Regions from separate parts of the Homo sapiens genome. Here region 2 is linked to region 1. The links are contacts of gene promoters, found by promoter capture Hi-C in human tissues and cell types (Jung and others, 2019). All regions are on one chromosome and are shown on one strand. The core of a region is centred on a gene start or on the middle of the fragment in contact, and the rest is flanking DNA. Distances in the headings are between cores, read along the strand shown.

Region 1 (6,495 bases), core at 2,807-5,306:
CCTCTGCTCGATTTACATGTATCCTGCTATTCTTTCTTTAGTTTCCTAAAGTGGAAGGTTTTTAAGCATTGGTTATATATCTTTGCTTTCTAGAGATTGCATTCAATTTTTTTTTTTTTTTTTGAAACAGAGTTTTGTTCTGTCACCCAGGCTATAGTGCAGTGGTAGGCTAGGCGTGGTGGCTCACACATGTAATCCCAGCACTTTGGGAGGCCAAGATCAGCAGACTGCTTGAGCCCAGGAGTTCAAGACCAGCCTCGGCAACATGGTGAAACCCCATCTCTACAGAAAACACAAAAAATTAGCAGGATGGGGTGGCACATCCAGCCACTCAGGAGGCTGTAGTGGGAGTTCCAGCCACTCAGGAGGCTGAGGTGGGAGGATCACTTGATCCCAGGGAGCAGAAGTTGCAGTGAGATCATGATACTGCACTTTAGCCTGGACAACAAAGCAAAACTCCACTTCAAGCAAACAAACAAACAAAAAGTCCCAAGAAAAAGGAACAGGCCAGCATGGTTTCACTGTTGAATTCTGGAAAACACTTATGGAAGAAATGACACCAATTCTCTATAATCTCTTTCAGAAAATACAAGCAGAGGGAACACTTTCTAATTCATGTTGTAAGGCCAACACTGATAATATGGTTTGGCTCTTTGTCACCACCCAAATCTAATCTTCAACTGTAATCCCCATAATCCCCATGTATCAAGGGAAGGACCTGTGGGAGGTGACTGGATCATGGGGGCGGTTTCCCCCACGCTGTTCTTGTGATAGTGGGTTCTCATGAAATCTGACGGTTTTATAAGTGTTTGACAGTTCCTCTTTCACATGCTGTCTTGCCTGCCACCATGTAAGAAGTGCCTGCTTCCCCTTCCGCCACAATTGTAAGTTTCCTGAGGCCTCCCCAGCCATGAGGAACTGTGAGTCAATTAAACCTCTTTTCTGGTAGTTCTTTATAGCAGTGTGAAAATGGACTAATACAACTGCCTTAACACCAAAACTAGACAGACATTACAGACATATCTCCACCATGTGAGGGCATAACAGGAAGAATGCCATCTGCAAATCAAGAAAGAGGCCCAGGCTGGGCACGGTGGCTCACACCTGTAATCCCAGCACTTTGGGAGGCCGAGGTGGGCAGATCATGAGGTCAGGAGATCGAGACCATCTTGGCTAACATGGTGAAACACCGTCTCTACTAAAAATACAAAAAATTAGCTGGGGTGGTGGCATGTGCCTGTAGTCCCAGCTACTTGGGAAGCTGAGGCAGGAGAATCACTTGAACCCAGGAGGCGGAGGTTGCAGTGAGCTGAGATCATGCCACTGTTCTCCAGCCTGGGCAACAGAGCAAGACTCCATCTCAAAAATAAAAAATAAAAAAAAAAAGAGTCCTTTAGTAGACAACTGACCTGCTGCTTGAAACTGAATTCTCAGCCTTTATAGCTTTGAGAAATGAATATCTGTTGTGTAAGGCATGCAGTCTATGGTAAATTTGTTATAGCAACCCAAAGGACTAAGTTAGGAAGGGTCTTTCTCTACCACACATCAAGGCTTTGAAGACTATAGTAATCAGGAGAGTATGATATTAGCAGACTGATGGATACATAAACCAATGAAAAATGGCAAATTCTGGAACAAGAGCATCTACTTAAGGTACAAGAACCTATGACACAGCAGGTATTGCCAGGCAGTGATACAAATGAGGGACACTTCAACAGAAATGATGGAGACAAATGGTTACCTACAGGAGAATAATCCATCTTCTGCCCAGCATCTCCATATACAATGATCAACTAACTATAGACTTTCCAGTTTTCATTAATTTTTACTCAGTTTGTTACCTCAGCTTCCATTTTGAGTGTGGTTTCGTTTTTCCATACCAAAAAAGGGGTTTTATGACCCTTGACACAGTTTCTAGTTCTCTATCTTCTCCCAGTTCTTCAATTTGGTTGATCCATATGCATCCCTTATACCATCATCTCCTTTCACCACCTCCCTATGGGTGCAGAGTGTGTCAAGTCAGGTCCTCCTATCACCTGGAACATCCCCCATCACCATGCTGCTCACCGAAGTGCTCAATAACCATGATCCCAGGAGACACTACATTGTTAGCTTTTCAGGTTCTTGCACCACCTCAGTGGAGTTGGTTTTCCTGTCCTTAGGGATAGTTTTCTCCCTTCATTAGTCTGAGAACATCAGAAGGGAAGAATCATTTCAGTCCTGTCCCCTTAATACCACCATCCAATTGGCTGACCAGCCATATATCCCCAAGGAAGGGATGGGGGAAGAAAAGCTGAGTGTTCTAAGGAAGTAGCTTATTGAGGAAGGGTATACCAGGAGACTCCTCCCACTACAGGGCATCATGCTGCTTCCCTACAAGGTCCCACCATCTCCACCTCAGGGTGTCCTCTGGGAGGAGTGACAAAGGGACTGATATTCACTTGACACTACAAGAGACTTGGCAGCTGTGGGCATCTTGGGGTGGCCCCAGGCAGCTCTGAAACCCAGGACCAGGAAACCATAGAGGATGGGCTGGGGACTCATCACTCTGTAACGTTTCCAAAGAGGAAACTTAATCCAAAGACATTCTCAAAAGGTGTCTCTGTCTAGGGATGATGAAGGGAGGACAGTAACAAAGATTTTATTTATTAATATTCATTTTTTTTACAGCGAAATGTCTGGTGGTTTTTCTCTGCTTCCTCTCATGTGAAATGTTCACAAACACAAAACCTTTTACAAAGAGCCATATATTGCTATGTATAAACAAAATGACAATTAAAATACTAGCCTCTGTTTGAAAAATAAACTGGGGGACAAGGAGTTCATAAAGTTGCTGTGAATTGAGGAGAGAAAGCCTGAGGAAGGCTCTGGAAGCCAAGGGATTTTCTGTCGGCCCTAGGAGGAGTTAGGATGAGAGAACACAGTGGTGGACTTGAGACCCTGCTGCCCACATCTTTGGAAGACTCGAAGGCGAACGGGTCACCCTTGGGAAGAAAGAAGGGACAGGGGACCACACAGACCACAACTCCTCCCACACACAAACCCCACACACGAGTCTGCCTGGTGACCTGTCATCACCGTGCAGCCTCCTCACCGGGTTCACAGAACTGCGAGCCAGGCTGGAGGCGAGATTGCAGTTAGATATTAACCAGGTGCCCTCAGCCCCGCTGCCTCGCGGGGCCGCCTCCCCAAGAGTCAGGCCACAGCAGATGCTGACCGCCGGCTTCGCCATTGTGCTTGGGGATGAGATCTCTGAGAGTTGCTCAAGAGTCGCCTGAGTTCTTTCTCAGATCCTGAATTCCAGCGGAAAGGCTGGCGCCAACCAGGCTGAAGACCCCACAAGGGAACCCACTCAGCAGAAGAATGCGGTTTCTTCACCTCCAGTCCCAAGAGTCACCCCTCACTTCCCCACCATCCAGCGACCCCACGCCCCAGCCGCCCCTGTCCACACCCCTAAACACCCCATCCCCAAACCTCTCAGGAAGGCGGATCTGGGGTGTCCTCCCCTCTCCCCCTATTAAACTGTTTCTGCTGCAGCCCTCGGCGTCTCGGTGCAGTGACTCGGGCCGCGAACCTGTGCCGGTTACAGCCGCACAATCTGGGGAGACGCAGGACTGCGGGCGCGGAGCTGCCCAGACAGGCCTCCAGGGCCAGGGCCGCAGTGGCCGCGCAGGGACGGGACAGGACGCCCGGGGTCCCGGCTGCCGCCCCAGCCCCATCGTGCGGCCGAGGGAACCGAGGGCCGAGCTGCGCCAGGGTGTCGCCGGCGGGGAAGACCTGGTGCCACCACAGCCGGTTCCGGCCGGTTCCAACCAGTCTCTCCTCTCACGCGTCGGGACACCAGACCTCACACACTCACCATTTCCCGGCTTCCGGCGTCCAGGTTCCTCCCTCTGCCTCCCGCTGTCAGTGCGGGTCCCAGCGAGACAGAAGCTGCCACAGACGTTCCAGGGCGTCTCTCAGTGACAGAACCCGGAGCCCAGTGCAGGGGCGTGGAGAAGACTCGGCGGGCTCTTTGAACCTTGCACCCTCCTCCGGTCAGTGCGCCTGATTGACAGTTCTCACGACCCCGCCCCGCGGCCCTGATTGGATAGTGCGCCAGGTCCCTCCCCCGGGCACTGAGTAACGGAAGAAGCGATCTCGGGCAGCGGAGTGGAACCTGATAAACAGATTCCAGACAGGCCTTGAGAGGACTAGCTTCCTCCCTGCGCTGTGACCTGACCCCCTCCCAGGGGACATTTGCATTTAGGCAGTATGTCCTGACCTTCCTCCTTTTTCCTCTTGGACAGGGACCCACAAGTCTGTGCAGGAAATTCCAGACTCACTGTCCAGTGGAGCTATCCCCTGATTTGAGAGCAGGAAGGGAGCCCAGGCCACACTGCAGCAGAAGGGAGGGGCTGATGTCCTCCAGGAATCAGGAGTTTTGGATGAGGCTGTTGGCTGCACAGGCCAAGCCTTTCTCCCACCTTATGTCTCAATCTACTAATTTTCAGTGCAGAATATAAAAACACCCCAACAAAGCCGGGCGTGGTGGCTCACACCTGTAATCCCAGCACTTTGGGAGGCTGAGGCAGGTGGATCACCTGAGGTCAGAAATTCGAGACCAGTCTGGCCAACATGGTGAAATCCCGTCTCTAAAATACAAAGATTAGCCGGATGTGGTGGCGCACGCCTGTAGTCCCAGCTACTCAGGAGGCTGAGACAGAGGAATCACTTGAACCTGGAAGGCAGAGGCTGCAGTGAGAGAGTGGGCGAGACAGAGGGAGACTCCGTCTCAAAAAAAAAAAAAAAGAAAAAAGAAAAAAGAAATAAATAAAATTGTTAAATGTGTGGAAAAACTGGAATTATATGGCGGCAATATTTTATAAAGCAAAAACTTGAACTAGCTCAGATAAGCAGCCTGCTGCATCCACACACAGTTCACAAGTCAACCACTTTCAGGAGGCCAAACATATTCCAAAGCTTGGAGGCCAGACGATAATTCCTGAAATGGAGCCCTAGGGTGGATCAGAACCTGGGGATGAGTCAGGGGCACTAATGGATTTAACTCTGGGAGTTCAATTTGCCCTCCTGTCTCCTAAACACAGCGTGGAAATGCTCCTTCCATCAAGCCTATAAATGTTATTGAATTAAATGCTTCAATCAAAGGCTGAGACATTAGACTTTGAATTTGAAAACATTCATCTTCATATTTTTATGAAGAATACCAGATATAAAAGCATTATGAGGCCAGGCACCGTGGCTCATGCCTGCAATCCCACCACTTTGGGAGGCTGAGGTGGGTGGATTGCTTGAGCTCAGGAGCTCAAGACCGGCCTGGGCAATGTGGTGAAACCCCCATCTCTATTTAAAAACAAACAAAAAAAAAGCGTTATTAACTGGGAGCTGGCACCCATGGTGATACGAAGAAAAAGAGGTTTAATTGACTCACAGTTCAGCATGGCTGGGGAGGCCTCACAATCATGGTGGAAGGCAAAGGAGGAGCAAAAGCAAATGTTACATGGCGGCAGGCAAGAGAGCGTGTGCAGGGGAACTGCCCTTTATAAAGCCATCGGATCTCATGAGACTTACTCACCCAAATCTCATTTTGAATTGCAGCTCCCATAATCCCCACATGTCATGGGAGTGATCCAGTGGGAGGTAATTGAATCATGGAGGCGGTTTTCCCATGCTGTTCTCGTGATAGTGAATAAGTCTCATGAAATCTGATGGCTTTATAAAGGGCAGTTTCCCTGTACATGCTCTCTTGCCTGCCGCCATGTAACATTTGCCTTTGCTCCTCCTTAGCCTTCCACCAACACCTGACCAAATGGATATGACATCTACAGAACTTTCCACCCAAAACCAACAGATTATACATTCTTCTCCTCACCACATGGCACATACTCTAAAATCAGTAACATAATCAGACATAAAATAACCCTCAGCAAATTAAAAAAACAAGCAAACAAAATCATACCAACTGCACTCTCAGACCACAGTGCAATAAAAATAGAAATCAAGACTAAGAAAATCTCCCCAAACCATACAATTATATCAAAATTAAATGACCTGGTTCAGAATGACTTCTGAGTAAATAATGAAATTAACACCAAAATCAAGAAATTCTTGGAAACTGAGAAGAAAGATACAACATACCAGAATCTCTGGGGCACAGCTAAAGAAGTGTTAAGATGGAAATTTATAGCACTAACTGCCCAAATCAAAAAGAAAGATCTGAAATTAATAACCCAATATCACAACTAGAAGAACTAGAGAAGCAAGAGCAAACCAATCCCAAAGCTAGCAGAAGACAAGAAATGACCAAAATCAGAGCTAAAATGACCAAAATCAGAGCTAAACTGAAGGAAATTGAGATACAAAAAAAAAAAAAAACATACAAAAGATTAGCAAATGCAAGACTTAGTTCTTGGAAAAAAATAACTTAAAAAGTCCCAAATAGTCAAGGCAATCCTAAGCAAAAAGAACAAAGCTGGAGGCATCATGCTACCAGAC
Region 2 (6,495 bases), core at 3,034-5,533, 630 kb before region 1:
CTTTCAGTCTTTGTGGATGGCTCTGTACTGGGGCATTCCTTGAAAACACAGTCAGGCTGTTTAAAATCCTACTTTAGCATTTATTTTCTGTTTAATTAAACCTAGGGATCAGCCAGAGCTGAAAATTAGGGTTTTATCATGTGTTTTGTGAAAATGTGTTCTTTCCTGTGCATGCATGGGGCTTTCTCAATTCCCCAGTATACCTGAGTGCTTTTGAGTACCCTAGTTTACTAGAGGAAATTTTCTCTCCAACTTTTTTCCCCCAGGATTTAGATGGTGTATTAGTCAGGGTTCTCTGGAGGGACAGAACTAATAGGATATATATATATATATAAATGGGAGTTTATTAAATATTAACTTAGACAATCACAAGGTCCCACAATAGGCTGTCTGCAAACTGAGGAGCAAGGAGAGCCAGTCCAAGCCCCAAAACTGAAGAACTTGGAGTCTGATGTTCGAGGGCAGGAAGCATCCAGCATGGGAGAAAGATGTAGGCTGGGAGGCTAGGCCAGTCTCTCCTTTTCATGTTTTTCTGCCTGCTTTATATTCGCTGGCAGCTGATTAGATTGTGCCCACCAGATTAATGGTGGATCTGTCTTCCCCAGCCCAGGGACTCAAATGTTAATCTCTTTTGGCAGCACCCTCACAGAGGCACCCAGGATCAATACTTTGTATCCTTCAATCCAATCAAGTTGACACTCAGTATTAACCATCAGAGATGGTATGTCATAATCATAATCCGTTTTACCAGGTGGTTGCAGGCTTTTGATGTATTTTACAACATTTTTAGGCAATTCCTGCCAAATTTGACAGGGACTGAGTTATTGTAGATGATATAGAACAGAGAGCCTTGTTTCAGACCTTTGGAAAGTCCCCATACCAATTCGAAAATACAAAGGTGATAATTGAGTGAGTAGGATTTTATACTGGGATCTCGGGCTGCTGTCTTTAAGACTGGCACTGAGGGCCGGGCATGGTGGCTCACGCCTGTAATCCCAGCAGGCAGGAGAACTGCTTGAACCTGGGAGGTGGAGGAGGCTACAGTAAGCCAAGATTGCAACATTGCGCTCCAGCGTGGGCAACAAGAGTGAAACTCTGTCTCAAAAAAAAATAAAAATAAAAATAAAAGAGAGAGAGACCAATACAATAATAGCTGGAGATTTTAACACCCCGTTTTCAGCACAGGACAGATCTTCCAGACAGTAAATCGACAAAGATTATCTCAATATATACTGAAAAATCAGACAAAAGAAAGATTAAATGGGATTTAATCTACACTATAGATCAAATGGATCTAATAGATATTTACAGAACATTTTATCCAACAGCTACAGAATACACATATTTTTCCCGAGCACATGCATCATTCTCAAGGATAGACCATATGTTAGTTCAAAAAGCATGTCTTAAAACTCTCCAAAAAAATTGAAATAATTTAAATTGTGTCATAGAATACATGGAATAAACTAGAAATCAATGACAAGAGGAATTCTGGAAACCATACAAACATATGGAAATTAAATAATCTGCTTCTGAATGACCAATTGGTCAGTGGAGAAATTAAGAAGGAAATTGTAAAGTTGCTTGAAACAAATGATAATGAAAATGCAACATACCAAAACCTATGGAATACAGCAAAAGCAGTACTAAGAGGGAAGTTTATAGATATAAGCACCTACATCAAAAAAGAAGAAGACCTGCAGGCTGGGTGCGGTGGCTCCCACCTGTAATCCCAGCACTTTGGGAGGCCGAGGTGAGTGGATCACCTGAGCTTAGGAGTTCAAGACCAGCCTGGCCAACATGGTGGAACCCTGTCTACTAAAAATACAAAAAATTAACCAGACATGGTGGTGGGTGCCTGTAATCTCAGCTACCTGGGAGGCTGAGGCAGGAGAATTGCTTGAACCCAGGAGGCAGAGGTGGCAGTGAGCTGAGATTGCGCCATTGCACTCCAGCCTAGGCTGCAAGAGTGAAGTAAAACTCACATCAAAAAAAAAAAGAAGAAGAAGAAGAAGAAGAAAACCTTCAAATAAACAACCTAAGAATGCATTTTAAAGAATTAGAAAAGCAAGAGCAAACCAAACCCAAAATTAGTAGAAAAGAAATAATAAAAATCAGAGTAGAAATAAATGAATTTGAAATGAAGAAACAATAGAAAAGAACAATGAAACAAAAAGTTGGTTTTTTGAAAAGACAAACAAAACTGACAAACCTTGAGGTAGACTAAGAAAAAAACAGAAAGGCCCAAATAAATAAAATTAGAGATGAAAAAGGAGACATTACAGTTGATACTGCAGAAATTCAAAGGATCATTAATGCAACTAAGAACAACTATATGCCAATAAATTGGAAAACCTAGAAGAAATTGATAAATTCCTAGGCAGATAGAACATAGCAACATTGAACCATGAAGAAATAAAAAACCTGAACAGACCAATAACAAATAATGAGATCAAAGCCATAATAAAAAGTCTGCTAGCAAAGAAAACCCCAGAACCCAGTGGCTTCACTGCTGAATTCTACTAACATTTAAAAAAGAACTAATACCAATCCTACTCAAACTATTCCAAAACAGAGGAGAAGGCAATACTTCCAAACTTATTTTACAAAGCCAATATTACTTTGACACCAAAACCAGACAAAGACATGTCAGAAAAAGAAAACTATAGGCCAGTGTCACTGATGAATATTGATGCAAAAATCCTCAACTCAATACTAGCAAACTGAATTTAACAATACACCAAAAAGATCATTCATCATGACCAAGTGGGCTTTATCCCTGGGATGCAAGGATGGTTCAATATATGCAAATCAATCAATGTGATGTATCATTTCAACAGAATAAAGGGCAAACACCATATAATCATTTCAATGTGCACTGAAAAAGCTTTTGATAATATTTAACATCCCTTCATGATAAAAACCCTAAAAAAAAACTGGGTATAGAAGCAGCTACCTTAACATAATAAAAGCCATATATGGCAGACCCACAGCTAGCATGATAATGAATGAGGAAAAACTGAAAGCCTTTCCTGTAAGATCTGGAACACAATAAGAATGCCCACTTTTACCACTGTTGTTCAGCACAGTACTCGAAGTCCCAGCTAGAGCAATAAGTCCAAAAAAAAAAAAAAAAAGAAATAAAGGGCATCTATATTGGGAAGGAAAGGAAGAAGTCAAATTATCCTGGTTTGCATATAATATGATCTTATATCTGGAAATACCTAAAGACTCCACCAAAAAAGTATTAGAACTGAGAAATAAATTCAGTAAAGTTGCAGGATACAATATTAACATACAAAAATCAGTAACATTTTTATATGCCAACAGTGAACAATCTGAAGCTACTTGAGAGGCTGAGGTGGGAGGATTGCTTGAGCTTGGGAGGTAGAGGTTGCAGTGAGCCATGATGGCCCCACTGCACTCCAGCCTAGGCAACAGAGCAAGACCCCATCTCAAACAACCAAAAACGTGTAGAAGGATGGTTACCACAGGCTGGGAAAAGTAGTAGCGAGGAGTAGTTATGGGGGAAGTGGGGATGGTTAATAGGTATAAAAAATAGTTACAAAGAATGAATAAGACCTAGTATTTGCTAGCACAACAGAGTGACTATAGTAAAAAATAATTTAATTGTACATTGAAATATTTTGAAAAATTTCATTGAAAAAGAGTATAATTGGAGCCAGGCGCGATGGCTCACGTCTCTAATCCCAGAACTTTGGGAGGCCAAGGTGGGCGGATCACGAGGTCAGGAGTTCGAGACCAGCCTGGCCAACATGGTGAAACCCGGCCTCTACTAAAACATACAAAAATTAGCCGGGTGTGGTGGCGCGCACCTGTAATCCCAGCTACTCGGGAGGCTGAGGCAGAATTGTTTGAACCCACCTAGGAGGCGGAGGTCGCAGTGAGCCTCGCACCATTGCACTCTAGCCTGAGCCACGGAGCAAGACTCCCTCTCTCTCTCTCTCTCTCTCTCTCTCTCTCGGAAAAAAAAAAAAAAAAAAAAAAAAAAGTATAATTGTTTTGTCAGTCAGTGTACAGGAGGAAGAAGCAGGAGGTCCTATTGAGTACAGGCAGGAAATTCCGCTTAAGTGCAAATATCCCTCGGGAGGATTCAGATCAAAGAGCAGGGAGGAAGCCCGCCCTGCCAAGGGCTGTGTCAGGAACTTGCTCATCTGGCTCCACTCAGCTGTGCAAGATCGCTTCTTCTGTCAATCAGTCCACGAGGGGCGGCACCTGACGCCGTATCCAGTAAGGGCCGTGGGGCGGGTTCGTGGGAACTGTCAATCAGGCGCGCTTCCCAGAGGAGTGTGTGGTTGAAAAAGCCCGCGGCGTCTTCTCCACCCACCTGCGCTGGGCGCTCGGTGCTCGGCTCTGTAGCTAAGAGACGACCTGGAAGTTCCGTGGCAGCCTGTGTCCCGCGGGAACCCGCATTGGCAGCGGGAGCCGTCCGGAGGACCTGGGACACCGCGGAAGTCGGGAAATGGTGCGTGTGCTGGGCCGGCGTCCCGAGGCGGGGGAGGGGCTGGGTGGAACCTGCAGTAATCGGCTGTGGCTGGACCCGGGCCTCCCCAAGGGCTACTCCGGGATCTACGGACCCGGGTTCCCCTGGCGTAGGTCGGCCCTCGGCCGCAGGGTGGGGCTGGGCATGCAGCCGGGACCCCGGGCGTCCTGTCCCGTTCCTGCGCGGCGACTGCGGCCCCGGCGCCCTCTCTGGGCAGCTCCGCGCCCGCAGCCTCGCGTCTCCCGAGATTGTGCGGCTGTAAGCAACACAGGTTCGCGGCCCGACTCACTGCACCGAGACGCTGAGGGCTGCAGCAGAAACAGTTTAATAGCCAGAGAGGGGAGGACACCCCAGATCCGCCTCCCTGAGGGATTTGGGGTCTGGACGGGGGCGGCTGGGTGTAGGGTCGTTGGTTGGTGGGGAAGTGAGGGGTGAATCCTGGGACAGGAGGTGAAGAAACCGCATTCTGCTGAATGGGCTCCCTCGTTGGGACTTCAACCTGATTGGCGCCAGCCTTTGCTGGGATTCAGGATCTGAGAACTCCGGCGACTCTTGAGCAGTTCTCAGAGATCTTATCCCCAGGCACAATGGGGAAGCCGGCGGTCAGCGTCTGCTGTGACCTGACTCTCAGGGAGGCGGCCCCTTGAGGCAGCGGGGCTGAGGGCACCTGGTTAATATCTAACTGCAATCTCGCCTCCAGCCTGGCTCGCAGTTCCTGTGAACCCGGTGAGGAGGCTGCACGGTGACGACGAGTCACCAGGTGGAATCCAGACTCGTGTGTGGGGTTTGTGTGTGGGAGGAGCTGTGGTCTCCGTGGTCCTCAGTCCCTTCTTTCTTTCCAAGGGCGACCGTTTCCCCTCTGAGTCTTCCAAAGATGTGGTTAGCAGGGTCTCAAATCCACCACTGTGTTCTCTCATCCTGACTCCTCCTAGGGCTGGCAGCAAATCTCTTGGTTTCCAGAGACTTCCCCAGGCTAACCTTCTGTCCTTAATTCACAGCAACGGTATGAACTGTTTGGCCCCCAGGCGATATTTCACTAGTTTGTCATCTTGTTTTCAGCTAGCAATGTATGGCTTTTTCTTGAAAGAATTATTTTGGGTTCCTGAACACGGTGGGTCATTCCTGTAATTCCAGCACCTTGGGAGGCTAAGGCAGAGGTATTGCTTAATCTTAGTAGTTCCAGACCAGCCTGGGCAACATGGCAAGACCTTGTCTCTAGTATAAATGATAATAATAAAATTAGCTGGGCTTGGTAGCTGGCACCTGTAGTCGCAGCTACTCCTGAGGCTGAGGTGGGATGATGGCTGGAGCCCAGGAGTTTGAAGTTGCAGTGAGCTATGATCGTGCCTCTGCATCCCAGCCTAGGCAACAGAGGCCGACCCTGTCTCAAAAAAAAAAAAAAAAAAGGGTGTCCACAGCTGCCAAGTCTCTTGGAGGGTCTAGTGAATATCATCCCCTGGGTCACTCCTCCCAGGGGACAGCCTGAGATGGGGGGTGTGGCCCCCTGGGGAGCAACTGGATCCACTGGGATGGGAGGAATCTTCTGGTATATAATTCCTGTAAAAAGCTAACTCCTGGGACACTCACCTTTTCTTCCCAACCCTAGTTTCCATTCCTTGGAGACACATGACTGAACAGCCAATTTCATGGTCATATTCCATAGGAAAAAAAAACAGAAATGATTTTTGCCTTCTGGACTCTCTCAGACTTAAAAGGTAGAAAGTTATATCTAAGGACTGGAGAACCTGCCCGTTGAGGTAGTGCAAGATCCTGAAAAGCACACAAGGCAGTGTCTCCTGGGAGGGTGATGACCAGAATAGGGTTAAGGGATGTCCCAGGTGATAGGATGACCCACCCTGATTGTTGCATTAGACTTTTCTGTGTTCCAGTCAGCACTGCTGATTCCTGAGTTTGTTAGCTTGAAAAGATATGTTTACTCTTTTCAGCCTAAATTTTTGATTAACCTTAAAATACATCCTATGATTAGAGAT

The links. The method cuts DNA at HindIII sites, captures the fragments that hold promoters and counts their contacts. A contact is called where the count stands out against the background at its distance.
Region 2: the fragment with the promoter of ZNF799 here is called in contact with the fragment with the promoter of ZNF441 in region 1 in 2 of the 25 tissues and cell types used here (hippocampus and mesenchymal stem cells).

The regions. Positions count from the first base shown.
Region 1 is chr19:11,764,561-11,771,055 of GRCh38, reverse strand. It overlaps ZNF441 (zinc finger protein 441), which reads right to left and starts at 4,056. Exons shown (of 4, transcript NM_152355.3): 1 at 3,860-4,056. The coding sequence starts at 3,862. RefSeq lists silencers at 3,026-3,135, 3,586-3,725 and an enhancer at 3,796-3,895. The HindIII fragment of the contact is 15,674 bases long and covers 1-6,495 here.
Region 2 is chr19:12,399,059-12,405,553 of GRCh38, reverse strand. It overlaps ZNF799 (zinc finger protein 799), which reads left to right and starts at 4,283. Exons shown (of 4, transcript NM_001080821.3): 1 at 4,283-4,486. The coding sequence starts at 4,484. RefSeq lists enhancers at 4,129-4,178, 4,899-4,988 and a silencer at 4,509-4,668. The HindIII fragment of the contact is 18,323 bases long and covers 1-6,495 here.